Linked DNA regions of Homo sapiens: regions 1 and 2 are each linked to region 3. Evidence: promoter capture Hi-C in human tissues and cell types (Jung and others, 2019). All regions are on one chromosome and are shown on one strand. Each heading gives the region's core, a stretch centred on a gene start or on the middle of the fragment in contact. The rest is flanking DNA. Distances are from core to core; before and after follow the strand shown.

Evidence for each region. Contacts are between HindIII fragments. The study calls those that stand out against the background at their distance.
Region 1: a fragment that was not itself captured here is called in contact with the fragment with the promoter of CCNE2 in region 3 in 1 of the 25 tissues and cell types used here (lymphoblastoid cells).
Region 2: a fragment that was not itself captured here is called in contact with the fragment with the promoter of CCNE2 in region 3 in 1 of the 25 tissues and cell types used here (thymus).

What each region holds. Positions count from the first base shown.
Region 1 is chr8:95,233,494-95,237,875 of GRCh38, reverse strand. No RefSeq gene overlaps it. Among named protein-coding and RNA genes, the nearest start is that of LINC01298, 19 kb to the right of the region's middle. The HindIII fragment of the contact is 6,913 bases long and covers 1-4,382 here.
Region 2 is chr8:94,609,904-94,614,162 of GRCh38, reverse strand. No RefSeq gene overlaps it. Among named protein-coding and RNA genes, the nearest start is that of LINC02894, 27 kb to the left of the region's middle. The HindIII fragment of the contact is 7,585 bases long and covers 1-4,259 here.
Region 3 is chr8:94,893,387-94,897,870 of GRCh38, reverse strand. It overlaps CCNE2 (cyclin E2), which reads left to right and starts at 2,670. Exons shown (of 12, transcript NM_057749.3): 1 at 2,670-2,694; 2 at 3,624-3,663; 3 at 3,752-3,848; 4 at 3,927-3,980. The coding sequence starts at 3,650. It also overlaps a transcript of NDUFAF6 not described here. RefSeq lists silencers at 1,081-1,300, 1,581-1,630, 1,801-1,850, 1,981-2,080, 2,461-2,680 and an enhancer at 3,297-3,858. The HindIII fragment of the contact is 13,775 bases long and covers 1-4,484 here.

The DNA.
Region 1 (4,382 bases), core at 281-2,780, 340 kb before region 3:
TTCTCCACTCTGGCCTCAGATAGAGTCAGCTGGAGAGCTTTAAAAAGTGCCAGTAACCCAGGCTTTAGGCCCAGAAAATCTGATTCATTAGTCTGCAGTGAGACCCAAGCATCGGTACTTTTCAACAACTCTCCCAATTATTCTAGCGTAGTACAGCCAGGGTTACAATCCACTAACAGCAATAAGACCTTGGGCATATCACTTCCCTCTTTGGGCTTTAGTATCCTCACCTATTAAAAAACAATTCTCTAAGAGTCCTTACTGCCAGTATAAAAATATGAGGTTATACTAAGTGATTTTTAATGTCCCTCCCAGAATAAAAGTTCCATGAATCTCTTTTCATAATGTAATCATTCAGAAAAGATTATTTCATTTAGGTTGAGTGTGTATTATGATCAATGTTTCTTTTAGTCCCCTAGAAACAGTCAATGCCAACTTCAAGGTTTGAGTTCCCTAATGACCAATTCACTTTACACAGAAAAAAGTAACAGCCTCCAAAGGTTGACAATACCAATTCCTCCCACTAGGAGAAGTATCTTAGAGTGCGTGGCCCTCTAGAAAGTGAGTCACTGGCACCATCTTCCATTGCAAAGAGCAGCACTTATTAGCAATGTTAGATAGAAAGCAGGACTCTAGAAAGTGGATGGAAAAAATAAAGAAAGTACATAACATAGAAACCATTTTAAGTTCTTAGAGTCAAGTAAAATTGACATTCACAGGTATGTAGGAAAAATTGTAAAAGATCTCTCAAAGAATATAATGTTTTATCCTTACATAATTTTTTGAGGGATGGGGGATTAGACAAGAGTTTTCCCCATGGAGTAAGGTATATTCTATCATAAATAGCTATAGCCTCAGCCTCTGGTGGTGGAAGGACCCCACAAACGCTTTTCAAGTCCCTTCCATCTGGCCTTGGTTTTCCTCCACAGCTGACTATGCACTAAAGGACTTCTTTCCACTCTTTCCACTCAGATTTTAAGGAACAGTTTTAGGTATTGTATTCGGTTACTAGCACAAATTTATTCTGAAATAGCCTAGGTCCAGTGATAAATCAAGGGAGTGAGAAGGAAAGGATTTGCATGGCCCATGACCCTGCCCCCAACCTTGAAGGCACAGATAATGTGTGCACTCATGATGCTCAGCACCACGTCCTCGGCAAAGGAGCTCCAGGCCACTTCTTGCCTTTGCCCCTGTTAATAAGCAGAGTCTCACATTAACAGGCTGCTGCATTGTGTGAGGTTATGAGCACAGGCCTGGGGTTAGACTGCCTTGATTTGAATACTGGCCCTATACCTTATGTGGCATGTGATGTTCTACAGGCCACGCATCCTCCCTAAGCCTCTTCTCCCCAGCCTGTGCAACAGGGTTAAGAATGCTCACCTCACAGAGAGTGATGCTGGGAGGAAGTGGATGGGATAATCTATGTAGAGCATTTAGCGAGGCTCCTGGCACATAGTAATTACTTAATACGTGTGAATTATTTGCTGAGATCTCTGTACAATGTAAAAATGCATACCTTAAAGATGGCTTTCTGCCATGATTCTACATAGGTTTTTTCCTTCAACATTCTTCTTTTTTTGCCTTAAAATGTTTAATTCCCACCAACTTTCATCTTACAACAGGAGGCTCAAAGTGACAGATTTAAAGAGAGCCTTCAAAGCGAGGACCATTTCACTTAAATGCCCACCTGCACTGTGCTAGGCATGGCAGTGGACCCAGAGGTGCCAGACACCAGACAGGAGCAAGGGTTGGCAAAACATGGGTCATTTCCTAAGGCATTGTAATCATTGGTCTTTTACGTAAGGTGTCTTTGACTCTGCTCAGTACCAGACATCAAGTACTACAGGCATAGTCCGTGTGTTTAGGCTGTTTCACAACTGAGTGAAATTCAACAGTGGCCATCCCCCTGTTGCTCATCATTGATTGTAATGTGACCAAAATGGAAACTGCTAACCTATGTGTCAATGCTTGTGCTGGAAACATACTGCTTCCAGATAGGGGGAAAAAAGCAATTCAGTTAAACGTCTCTTTTATGGTCTATAATTCTTACTGCAACTTCAGGTCGGCTGTTGCGTCATCAAGTCACATTCTGAACCCAACTCTGGCTGTTTCTCAGGCCTGAGGGACCCAGCAAAGGAGGGAGGTCCTGAAGCAGCCTTTCCAGGGGTAGAGTTAGTGACTTACAGCGAAGAAGAAAGAGACAAATTTGTCTCCAGGGACTCAGGGTTGTAAAAGACCCACCATCCTGAGCCCTCCAAACAGTGAAACAAGTTGAGAATCTAACCCATAGCGGGCAGACCTACACTGAGGACCAGATCTCATTTCTTTGTTGGGCTTTGGTCTCTCAGGAAAAGCACCCAGAACACTTCATCCAAATCTGCCTGCTGTTAACAATATCCCATAGTGGTGGAGGTAAATGTTTTTCTCTGGCTGAAAATAGAAATCCTCCCTAGCGTAAACCCCCTGTCTTTGCTTTTAGGAGAAAAGGATAGGCACCAAATATTAGGATCTTTCCAGGGAAGTTTACCAGCCCTTTCTACACAGAAGCACTTGTCATCTTGAGCTTGTGAGCTTGAGCTTGAGCGTAAGCTTGTGGGCTTGAGCTTTCTTTCTGGGAAAGAAAAATTGGAACCTTCTAACTGATTCACTTAAATAATCAATTCCGTAGCACTTAAAGGAATCTAAGTGGATCTAAAGTTAAAGAGAAACAATGAAATGATTCCTCACTCACAATGAAAGGTTGAAAATCGAGGTAACGACCTTGGTGAGCAGAGAGAGGAAATCGCAAGGGCAAGTGGGTTAATGCTGATGGGCTTTTTGAGACCAGGAAACCATATCTTCATGACCTTTGAGCATGATTGTTCAGCACAAATATTTCCAGAGTACAGTGATTTGGTTTTGTTTTTAATAGTTGTTGCTTTTTTTGATGGACTGAAAAACAAAATGAAAAATTATTTCATGTTCTCACTTTTTTGTGCATTGAAATATAGTACATAAAAAGCAGAAATCCCTCCATTATCCCAAGAGAAAAACACTGCTCATTTAGTGTCTGTCCTTCCAGATTTGGGGATGAATGGATGGATAGATGATAGAGATATTTACTGAAATATTTTTCTTAACGAAAATGGGTCCTGTCCTGTATATTATCCTGCCATTTGCTTTTGTTTTACTAAACAGCATATCATGGCCGTCTTTCCTGGCCAATATACACATATTTCTTAGAATGGCTTTGTGGTATTCATGATGTGGGTGTTCCATGAGTTCTCTAACCCTTCTTCTGTTTATGGAGATCTTGGTTTCAGTATTCTCCTGTTATAAAAAATGCTTCAGGGAATATCTTTGTACATATATTGGTACACATGCTTGCTAGTATTTCCTTAGAAACAGATTATTAAAAGTGGTACTGCTAGGCAGAGATTATGCATTTCTAACAAGCTTCAAGGTGATGCCTGTTTGCTGTTCTGTGGACCATATTTTGAGCAGCAAGGCCATGGATGTAGTCTGCCCTGCAACAAATTCAACTAATCAGATCAGCATGCCGTAGAGGCCACATGTGGGCATTCTGGTGGATAGTGCCAGTGGAGCCCACTCTTGCCAACTTCAGTGAAGCCATCTTGGGCCCTCCAGACCTGCCAATCTGCCATGCAAACACCAGCAAGTGACTTCAGCTGATGTGGAGCAGAAGCATTGCTGCACCAGGCCTGTCTGGTTTCATGGTTCATAGAATTGTGAGATGTATAATAAAATGGTAGTTCTGTTAAAACCCCACCCCAAAAACACAGGGATTGCTTGGTCATAGAATTTGCATGTTTTTAATTCAGATGATATTGCCAAATTACCTTTTCACAAGATTGTGTCAATTGCTATTAGTACAACTATGGATAAGAGCGACTAATATTTTTCCTAAAGGCATGGAAAGAGTCTGTGTTTGTTGAGCATTATTGACTGTTTAAAATATATTTTATCATGAAATATTTGAAATATACAGGAAACCACAGGGAATAGGATAAAATAATGGTTCAAACATTTTTGTTGGTTCTTGAGTCAAATTTAATGGTAATTCTGGCTGGACACACTGGCTTATGCCCATAATCCCAGCGCTTTGAGAGGCCGAGACAGGAGGATGGCTTGAGGCCAGGAGTTGAAGACCCTAGGTAACATACTGAGACCCATTTCTACAAAAAATGTTTTAAAATTAGTCTGGCATAGTCCTAGCTATGCAGGAGGCCAAGGCAGGTGGATTGCTTGAGCCCAGGAGTTCAAGATTACAGTCAGCTATGATCAGGCTACTGTGTCTAACCTGGGTGGCAGAGCAAGACCCTGTCTCAACAACAACAACAACAAAAAGTAATTATTCTTGTTCAGAGAATTGTCCACATCAT
Region 2 (4,259 bases), core at 1,305-3,804, 280 kb after region 3:
CAAAGTGCTGGGATTACAGGCGTGAGCCACCGCGCCTGGCCTGAGATTTTTTACTTATGTATTTGTTTGCTTATTTATTGTTGGTCTAGCCCCACTAGCATCAAACCCCATCTCCACAAAGCACATGCTCTATTAACATGTATTTAATAAATCAGTCATTCACACCACAGCATACGTGACTCCAAGTATTCCATTTTTCTTTTCTTTTCTTTTTTTTTTGAGACAGAGATTCGCTCTTGTTGCCCAGGCTGGAGTGCAACGGTGTGATCTCGGCTCACTGCAATCTCTGCCTCCCGAGTTCAAGCGATTCTCCTGCCTCAGCCTCCTGAGTAGCTGGGATTACAGGCATGCGCCACCATGCCCGGCTAATTTTGTATTTTTAGTAGAGACGGGGTTTCTCCATGTTGGTCAGGCTGGTCTCGAATTCCTGACCTTAGGTGATCCATTCGGCCTCCCAGAGTGCTGGGATTACAGGCGTGAGCCACCGTGCCCGGCCAGTATTCCATTTTTCTTGCGCATTTCATTTTAACTGGGATCAAAGCTTTAAGGTAAGGAAAGCGCAGCCTGGTAAGATTTTGGACATTAATTTACTGACTGAGGAGAATTTCTCCACCACTCCCCTGAAAAATCATACCTCCATTTCTACAGGCCACCCCCATTTTCTGTCTGTACTTGCTTCTGGTCTCCCTCCAACTTTCCTGGGAGGATCCCTCCGTAGACTGTTCTTCACTGGGTGGATTCACCCGGCTCTAAGAGATGTGTAAACGTCCAGGCTTACAGATCCTATTTTGCAGTAGCCACACCTTGGATATCCTTGTCAGAGGCAAAATCAGGGTCGGGGGTGGGGAGGGTGTGGGGGAAGTGGGAGTGGGGGCTGAGTTTCTTTCATGCGGCAGCTCAGCAGTCTTCAGTAGCCTGCTGCCACCTCAGCTCCAGGTCTGTCCACACCCTTATTCCGCCTACCAGCTGTGCCCAGCCCTTGCTTCCCGTACCTTTTCTGGCCCGTATTTTTTCTTGCTTTTTAGTTGGCGAGATGCCTAATTCAACCTCCAGCGTCTCCATTTCTGGAAACATTTCACAGTTGCTGCTGCCACAATTCTGCCCTCTAGTAGCTGAAACTGGAAACGCACGTGTCTGAGCCAGCCGCTATAGGAGCCATCATCTCAGCTATTCCGGAGGCTGAGGCGGGAGGATTGCTTGAGCCTGGCAGGTCGAGGCTGCAGTGAGCCGTGACTACGCCACTGCACTCCAGCCTGGACGACAGAGGGAGACCCTGTCTCTAAAAATAATAACAATAAACATGGCCGGTCGTGGGGGCTCACGCCGGCAGGCGGAGGCCGGAGGATTGCTTAAGCCCAGGAGTTCGAGCCCAGCCTGGGCAACATGGTGAAACCCGGTCTCGACAAAAAGTTTAAAAAATTCGCCGGGTGTGGTGGTGCATGCCTGTAGTCCTAGCTACTTGGGAGGCTGAGGTCAAAGGATCGCTTGAACTGGGAAAGTCGAGGCCACAGTGAGCTGAGACCATACCACTGCACTCCATAATAGACAACTGGAGTGAGGCTCTGTCTCTAATAATAATAATAATTGCTGTGCGCAGTGGCTCACGCCTGTAATCCCAGCACTTTGGGTGGCTGAGGCGGGTGGATCACGAGATCAGGAGTTTGAGACCAGCCTGGCTAATATGGTGAAACCCCGTCTCTACTAAAAATACAAAGTTAGCCAGGCATGGTGGTGTATGCCTGTAATCTCAGCTACTCCAGAGGCTGAGGCAGGAGAATGGCTTGAACCCAAGGGGCGGAGGTTTCAGTGAGCCAAGTCACGCCACTGCACTCCAGCCTGGGCGACAGAGCAAGACTCCATCCCAAAATAATATTAATAATAACAATAAAAAATAATAATTAAGTTAAATAATACAGTAAGACACATCTCTGACTGGAAAGACGGCACTTGCCTAGCAGCTCCCTCCTTCCTTGGCTACCCTTTCAGGAGGAACTTAAATGGTGGACAGTCTCTTAACTCAAGGGCGTTCAGGAGAACTGGCTAGAAAGAGAACTGTGGCATGGTGAAGGCAAGGTATTTCTGCATTCAAGCGACACTCTCCACCACCTCACCCCCTCAACGGTATGTTCCTTTCTTTTCTCCATAGCCTGTGTTCACGACAGATACTCCCAGGGACAGACAGAATGTTTTTTTGTTTTTGTTTTTGTTTTTGAGACGGAGTCTCGTTGTCGCCCAGGCTGGAGTGCAGTGGCGCGATCTCGGCTCACTGCAAGCTCTGCCTCCCGGGTTCACGCCATTCTCCTGCCTCAGCCTCCCGAGTAGCTGGGACTACAGGCCCCCGCCACCTCGCCGGGCTAATTTTTTGTATTTTTAGTAGAAACGGGGTTTCACCGTGTTAGCCAGGATGGTCTCGATTTCCTGACCTCGTGATCCTCCTGCCTTGGCCTCCCAAAATGCTGGGATTACAGGCGTGAGCCACCGCACCTGGCAGAAATTTTTTTGTTTTTTGTTTTTTATGAGACAGAGCCTCACTCTGTTGCCCAGGCTGGAGTGCAGTGGCATGCATGATCCTAGCTCACTGCAACCTCCACCTCCAGGGTTCAAGCAATTCTCCTGCCTCAGCCTCCGGAGTAGCTGAGATTACAGGGGCCTGCCACCACGCCCAGATAATTTTTATAGTTCTAGTAGAGACAGGGTTCCACCATGTTGGCCAGGCTGGTCTCACACTCCTGACCTCAGGTGATCCACCCACCTAGACCTCCCAAAGTTTTGGGATTACATGTGTGAGCCCCGGTGCCTGGCCCCAGATTGAAAATTTGATACCCCTTCTAGTTAACAGCTATACTGTCAGTGTTTGTTCGACATTTCCTTAGTGAGGGTGAAGAGAAACTAGTTTTCTATTAATAAAAATGACTCAAACTAAGGGATTTATAATGTAATTTTCCAAGCCCCCAAACTTCGTGGGAAGTATAAATTTTTTGCCATCCAGAGTTAACCACTATCCTGAGTACTATTACTATAGATTAGATTTGCCTGATGTTGAACTTCATATAAATGGAATCATATAACATGTGTTTTTTTGTGTCTGGCTTATTTTGTTTAGCAAGTTTTTGAGATTTATCCACCTGGTTGCATGTAATAGTTCTTTTTACTGATGAATAGTATTCTACGGTATGGATATACCACAATTTGCTTATTAATTTTCATATGGATGGACATTTAGACTGTTTCCAGATTTTTTTCAGGCAGTTTTGAATAAAGCTACTATAAACATTTGTGTACAACTCTTTTCATAGTTGTACATTTTATTTTGTCTTGGGAAATTACCTGATGAGTAGAATTGCTGCATCATAGAGTATACATTTAAATTCATTAGGAATTGCCAGTTTTCTGAAGTGGTTGTATCATTTTACATTTTGGGAGACATATTAAACCTGTTTTGTTTGTTTGTTTTGGGTTTGGTTTTGGTTTGGCATTGGGTTTTTTGAGGCGGAGTTTCGCTCTTGTTGCCCAGGCTGGAGTGCAGTGGTGCGATCTCAGCTCACTGCAACCTGAGCCTCCTGGGTTCAAGCGATTCTCTTGCCTCTGCCTCCTGAGTAGCTGGGATTACAGGCATGCGCCATCACGCCCAGCTAATTTTGTATTTTTAGTAGAGATGGGTTTTCTCCATGTTGGTCAGGCTAGTCTTGAACTCCCGATCTCAGATGATCTGCCCGCCTTGGGCTCCCAAAGTGTGGGGATTACAGGCGTGAGCCACTGCGCCTGGCCCTGATTTTTAATTTTTAAAACATAACACAAATACAGAAATAAGGCAAACACTTTGCTTTATATAATTTATTAAGTTGTATGTTAGTTTTCTTCTTTCTTTCTACATGAAAGAAGACAGAATCTTGCCAGTCACTCCAGAAGCCATTCATATTTTCATATACCTATCCCAAACAGAAATCCCCTCACCACAAAAACTATTTGCTGTCCTGACTTTTATGTTCATTGTTACCTTCTTTCTTTCTTTTTTTTTTTTTTTGAGACAGCGTCTTGCTCTGTCACCGAGGCACCCAGGTTGGAGTGCAGTGGCATGATCTCTGCTCACTACAAGCACCGCCTCCTGGGTTCACACCATTCTCCTGCCTCAGCCTCCCCCGTAGCTGGGACTACAGGTATCCACCACCACGCCTGGCTACTTTTTTTCTTTATTTTTAGTAGAGACAGGGTTTCGCCCATGTTGCCGGGGCTGGTCTTAAACTCCTGGGCTCGAAGGA
Region 3 (4,484 bases), core at 1,421-3,920:
AATACTGGCTATAAAAAGATGAACAAAACAATTTCCGAGGTCGAGTTGGAAATAAAAGACATTTAAATAAGTAATTTTTGTCCTGTAAGATGAGCATAACTGTAGCACAGGGAAAAGGATCTGTGAAGCTTCGACAGAGGAGATATACAAAAAAAAAAAAAAAAGGCACAGAATAAAGAAATGGGTGGGCTAAGCCTGAATTTTTTTTTTTAAGCCTGTGCCTCCAAGCATCTTCTGGGGTTTTTTCCTCCTGAAAATGAATGTCGGAGCAATCAAAATAGTTACCCCAGAGAAGCATGGTAGAGGCCAACAGTTTATTTACCATGGTGTTTTAACTTTACATGTACAATAGGGGAAATATACTTTAGGTGAATTTTAAAACGGATAAGTAGGAAAAGAGCAAGCTAAAAACAAACATACCCGCCCCCTACCCTTTATTTTCTCTTTTTTTAACAGACCCACTTGTCTATTGACCAGGTATCTGTAATATGGGAGAATTCACTCTATTCCTTTCCACACAAAGACGTCTTGGAATTTTCTAATTTCTCCTTTACTATGATTGCATTCTGTTCACATAATAGTCAAGGGTATGGAAAGAACATTTATAAGAGCAGTGTCTTTTAAAATCAATTTACTAGTTAACTCAGTACTGAGCATACATTCATCATTCAAAGATGATTCCCACAAACGTTACTCGACATACTGGTTTTCAGTATATTTTATCAAATTCAACCACGAGGGCCACCAGTTCTGCTTACGATCAGGTGACCCTTGTTGGGAGACCCCTGACCCCTTTTCTTGACATCATGCTGTTAGACCTTTAAGCTAGCTATACCGCTAACTGCGTTTTGAGTGACTGCAAAAGGGAGGCAACTTCTGCCCCGCCGAGAGCCATCCTAAGCGTTAGAAATGGCAGAAAGTTTCTTGGGACTGACAAGGCATGGGCTTCTCCTGATGCTGTCACCTTGGGCAAAGCTCCTACAGGTAAATTAGGGAGAGAATTATTTTGCCGGCGTCACGAGACGAAGAATCGAAAAAGTGTGAAAAAGGACTTCGCCCGCCCCAAAGCGCCCATCCGGCGGCGGCTATTTCCCGGGCCTCAAGCGCGCTCGAGCGGCGCAGCACAAAAGGCCGGGCGGGAGCGGGGGTCGCCGGGCGCCGCCTCCCGGTGCATCTCGGGAAGGGCTCCCGCCCGCGAGGCTCCGTCTCCCCGGCGCGGCCCGCTCGCCGTCCGGCTCGCTCAGGGCCTGGGCAGACGCGGCCCGCCCGAGCTACCGCGGGTTCCGAGACGCCTTCGCACTGCTCCTCCACCCGGGGGATCTTTGTTCCCGGAGCTGTTCCCCGCCTCGCTGCTCCCGCCGCAAAACCTGTTTGCGGAATACCCGCCGCAAGTCTGACTTGACGATGTGCAGTTTTGGGGTGCGCCAGTTGTGGGGGCATTCATAGAGGCAGCGAAGGGACCCCTAAGTTTAAACACCCGGGGAAGGATAAAGGAAGAGCGTCGGGCCCCCCTCCTCCCAACAGCGCTCGGGCGCGAACGGCGCCCTCCCGCGCTGCCGGCTCGCGCGGGCTCCGCAGGGCGCGCTGGCGGCGGCGGCGGGGCGGGGCGCGGCAGGCGGGCCCGGGGCCTGCACGTGGTGGCGATCTTTCTTCCCACCCGGCCAGGTCCCCGGGGACCACCGCGCTCAGGGGGAGGAGGAATGCCGTTCCCGGGCCCCGCTCCGGAGAGGGGTTTTACCCTCTGGGATCCCGGAATTGGAGGTGGAGAAGAGAGGAAGCAAGGGAGGGCGCGGCGTGGCGCGAGCGTTTCCTGCGCGGGGACTGCGGGGTGGCAGCTGGAGGCCACTGCAGGGGCAGAGCGGCGGGTTGGGGGAGCGACCGACCCATGGGGAGGGAAACCCGGTAGGGGGAGCAGGGAGCCGGAAAGCAGGGTTGATACATACCTGGGTGGGCGGGCTGGAAATGCCTTCCCTGGGCGCGCCGCGCAAGGCCGGCGGAGCGGGCTCCGGGTGGTCGCGGACCGGGACTGGGGAGAGCAGAGCCGCACTTGGCCAGGCGCGTGGCTGAGTGGTGTTTACATTCTGCAGCCACTCCACGTTGTGCTGCCGCCCGTGCCTCCCATTGGCCAGCTCTTCAGCCAACGCTTTGCTCCTCCCCGAGGGGCGGGCCCTCGGGTCCCCGCGTCGCTCAGGAAAGACCTGGGTTCCCTGAGGCCTTGGCGGGACAGCTAGGGCGCGCCCCTGGACGGTCACTTCCCAGCCACCCTATGGTCGCCCGAGTCGTGTCCCCCTGTTATGCGCCCGGGCTGAGCCGCAGGCTGACACCCCCGAAATCCAGGAGTTGCAGTGGGAGGAAGCAAAAGCAAACTGGCGGGAGATGCGCGAGCCAGGCGGCGGGGAGAACAGCCGCGGAGAAGGAGCCCCTGAGAGTTTCCCTACCGCCGCCGGCCGCGCCGTGGAGCGCGGTGGACGCGGGCAGAAGGCCCGGTAGAGTGGACCCCACGGCCGCTCCGGGTGGCGGGCGCGCACTGAGAGCAGGGCGCGGCGCGCGGGCACGCGGGCGGACGGGCGGGAGAGGGGAGCGCGCTGTCCGGAGGTGTCAGTCTGAGGCGCATGCGTGCGGGGCGGGACCGGCCCGGCCTATATATTGGGTTGGCGCCGGCGCCAGCTGAGCCGAGCGGTAGCTGGTCTGGCGGTGAGGAGTTGCTGCGCGTAGGGGGGATGTGGGAGGAAAGAAAGCCCAGTTGGGCCGATCACTTACCACAGGCGGGAGCCTCAGGGAGGAAAATCGGGAGGGCTGAGAACTAGACGACTGGGGGTCATGGGTTCCCGCGTTCCGTCCCTGTCAGGAACCTTGGCAGGGGACCGGGAAGCGGCTGGGCATGGAGAGCCGCCCCTCATTCTAGGGGCTTCTCTATCCCACCCTCATTTGGGGAGCTATCCCGTGGGAGAGAGGATGGGAGGCCGGGTCCCCTCCATGGGGAGAAAAGTTCCCAGCCAGCCCAGTCTCCCCTTTCTTTAGCTCCTTTTCCTGCCCTCCCCCACGCCCTCCGCTTCCCATCTGGAGTTGGGGTCCCGGCGCCCCTCCGAGCGGCGGTAGGGCGGCAGGGCCGGGAAGGAGGGAAAGGAGACTGGAGGCCGTGACACCAGTCTTGGTTCCTCCGCCCCCTGCTTCCCCGCCACCGCCGCTCTCCAAATTGGCGCGGAACCGGCTTCTCCACAGCATTTCGCCTCCACAACCCCCTCTCCCCGCTGGTCCAGGAGGGAGGCGGGACGTGGGGGCGCTGCCCAAGCCCCACTCCCGGTGTACGGGGGAGAGGGTGGAGGACCCAGAAAAACCCGTTTGAGGAAGATGTGCCTCCCTGCGCGTTCAAGGTGTCAGGAGTGCTTGGTAAATTTTTGGACACTCGCGTTCCAGCTGTACATTCAGTTGAGGAAATGCAGGCTTGTATCCAAAATGAATTACCATGAGCTAGCTAACATAGCACAGAAGATGGCAGGGTCACAGGGCCCAGGCCCCCTTCGGAGGGACTGAGCTTTCACCTGCGAATCAGCGTCTTACTGGCACTTGGAGAATGTGAATGACAATGTACTTGACTGCGGCTTTTCCTCTCCCCCCTTCAGAGGTTTTATACACCTGAAAGAAGAGAATGTCAAGACGAAGGTAACATTATCTGTCTTAGAGACATGTTTCAAATTAGTTGCTGCCTTTAACTTACTAATTACACTTCCTTTTTAAAAATTCACTACAGTAGCCGTTTACAAGCTAAGCAGCAGCCCCAGCCCAGCCAGACGGAATCCCCCCAAGAAGCCCAGATAATCCAGGCCAAGAAGAGGAAAACTACCCAGGTGATTTAAGGAGAAAGAGGGAGGAACGAAATTCCATGCTGGGACTTTAGTTTACCAATGGTCTTTTCTATTTTCCAGGATGTCAAAAAAAGAAGAGAGGAGGTCACCAAGAAACATCAGTATGAAATTAGGGTAATGCAGAACTGGGCTGGGTGGGTTTGGGGGAAAAATGGAGGATAGATGAATAAGAATAGAATTATGTGTTTATTGCTTTGCGATAGATTCCTCTGACACTTTTACTTTTAATGCCCCTAGAGGTCAGCAGGAAGGCGCCTATCTTTGGGTGGTTTCTATGTGCCCGAATCCTACTACAGCTGCAGAATAAGTGCCTTCAAGCAGCTGGTTCCTTTTTGTAAATCCCTCCCTCTTGGAACTGCCTGGTGCACCAGGGCCCGCCTAATCTGTCCAATATACTGCTCTTTGTTCCCTCGCAGACTCTAGTAGACGGTCCTAATAGCTGCTTCTTGGGCATAAATAGGATGTGAGATCACTGACAGCCTGGCACGCAGCCCTTTGGTACCTCTTCTTCCTATGTGTTTTACAGAAAGCAGCACTTTGGAGATAGTGATTGCGTTTGAAACCAGCATTATTGGGAAAAGAATCGTTTAAGTAATCGATTCCATTTTTAAGGTTTTG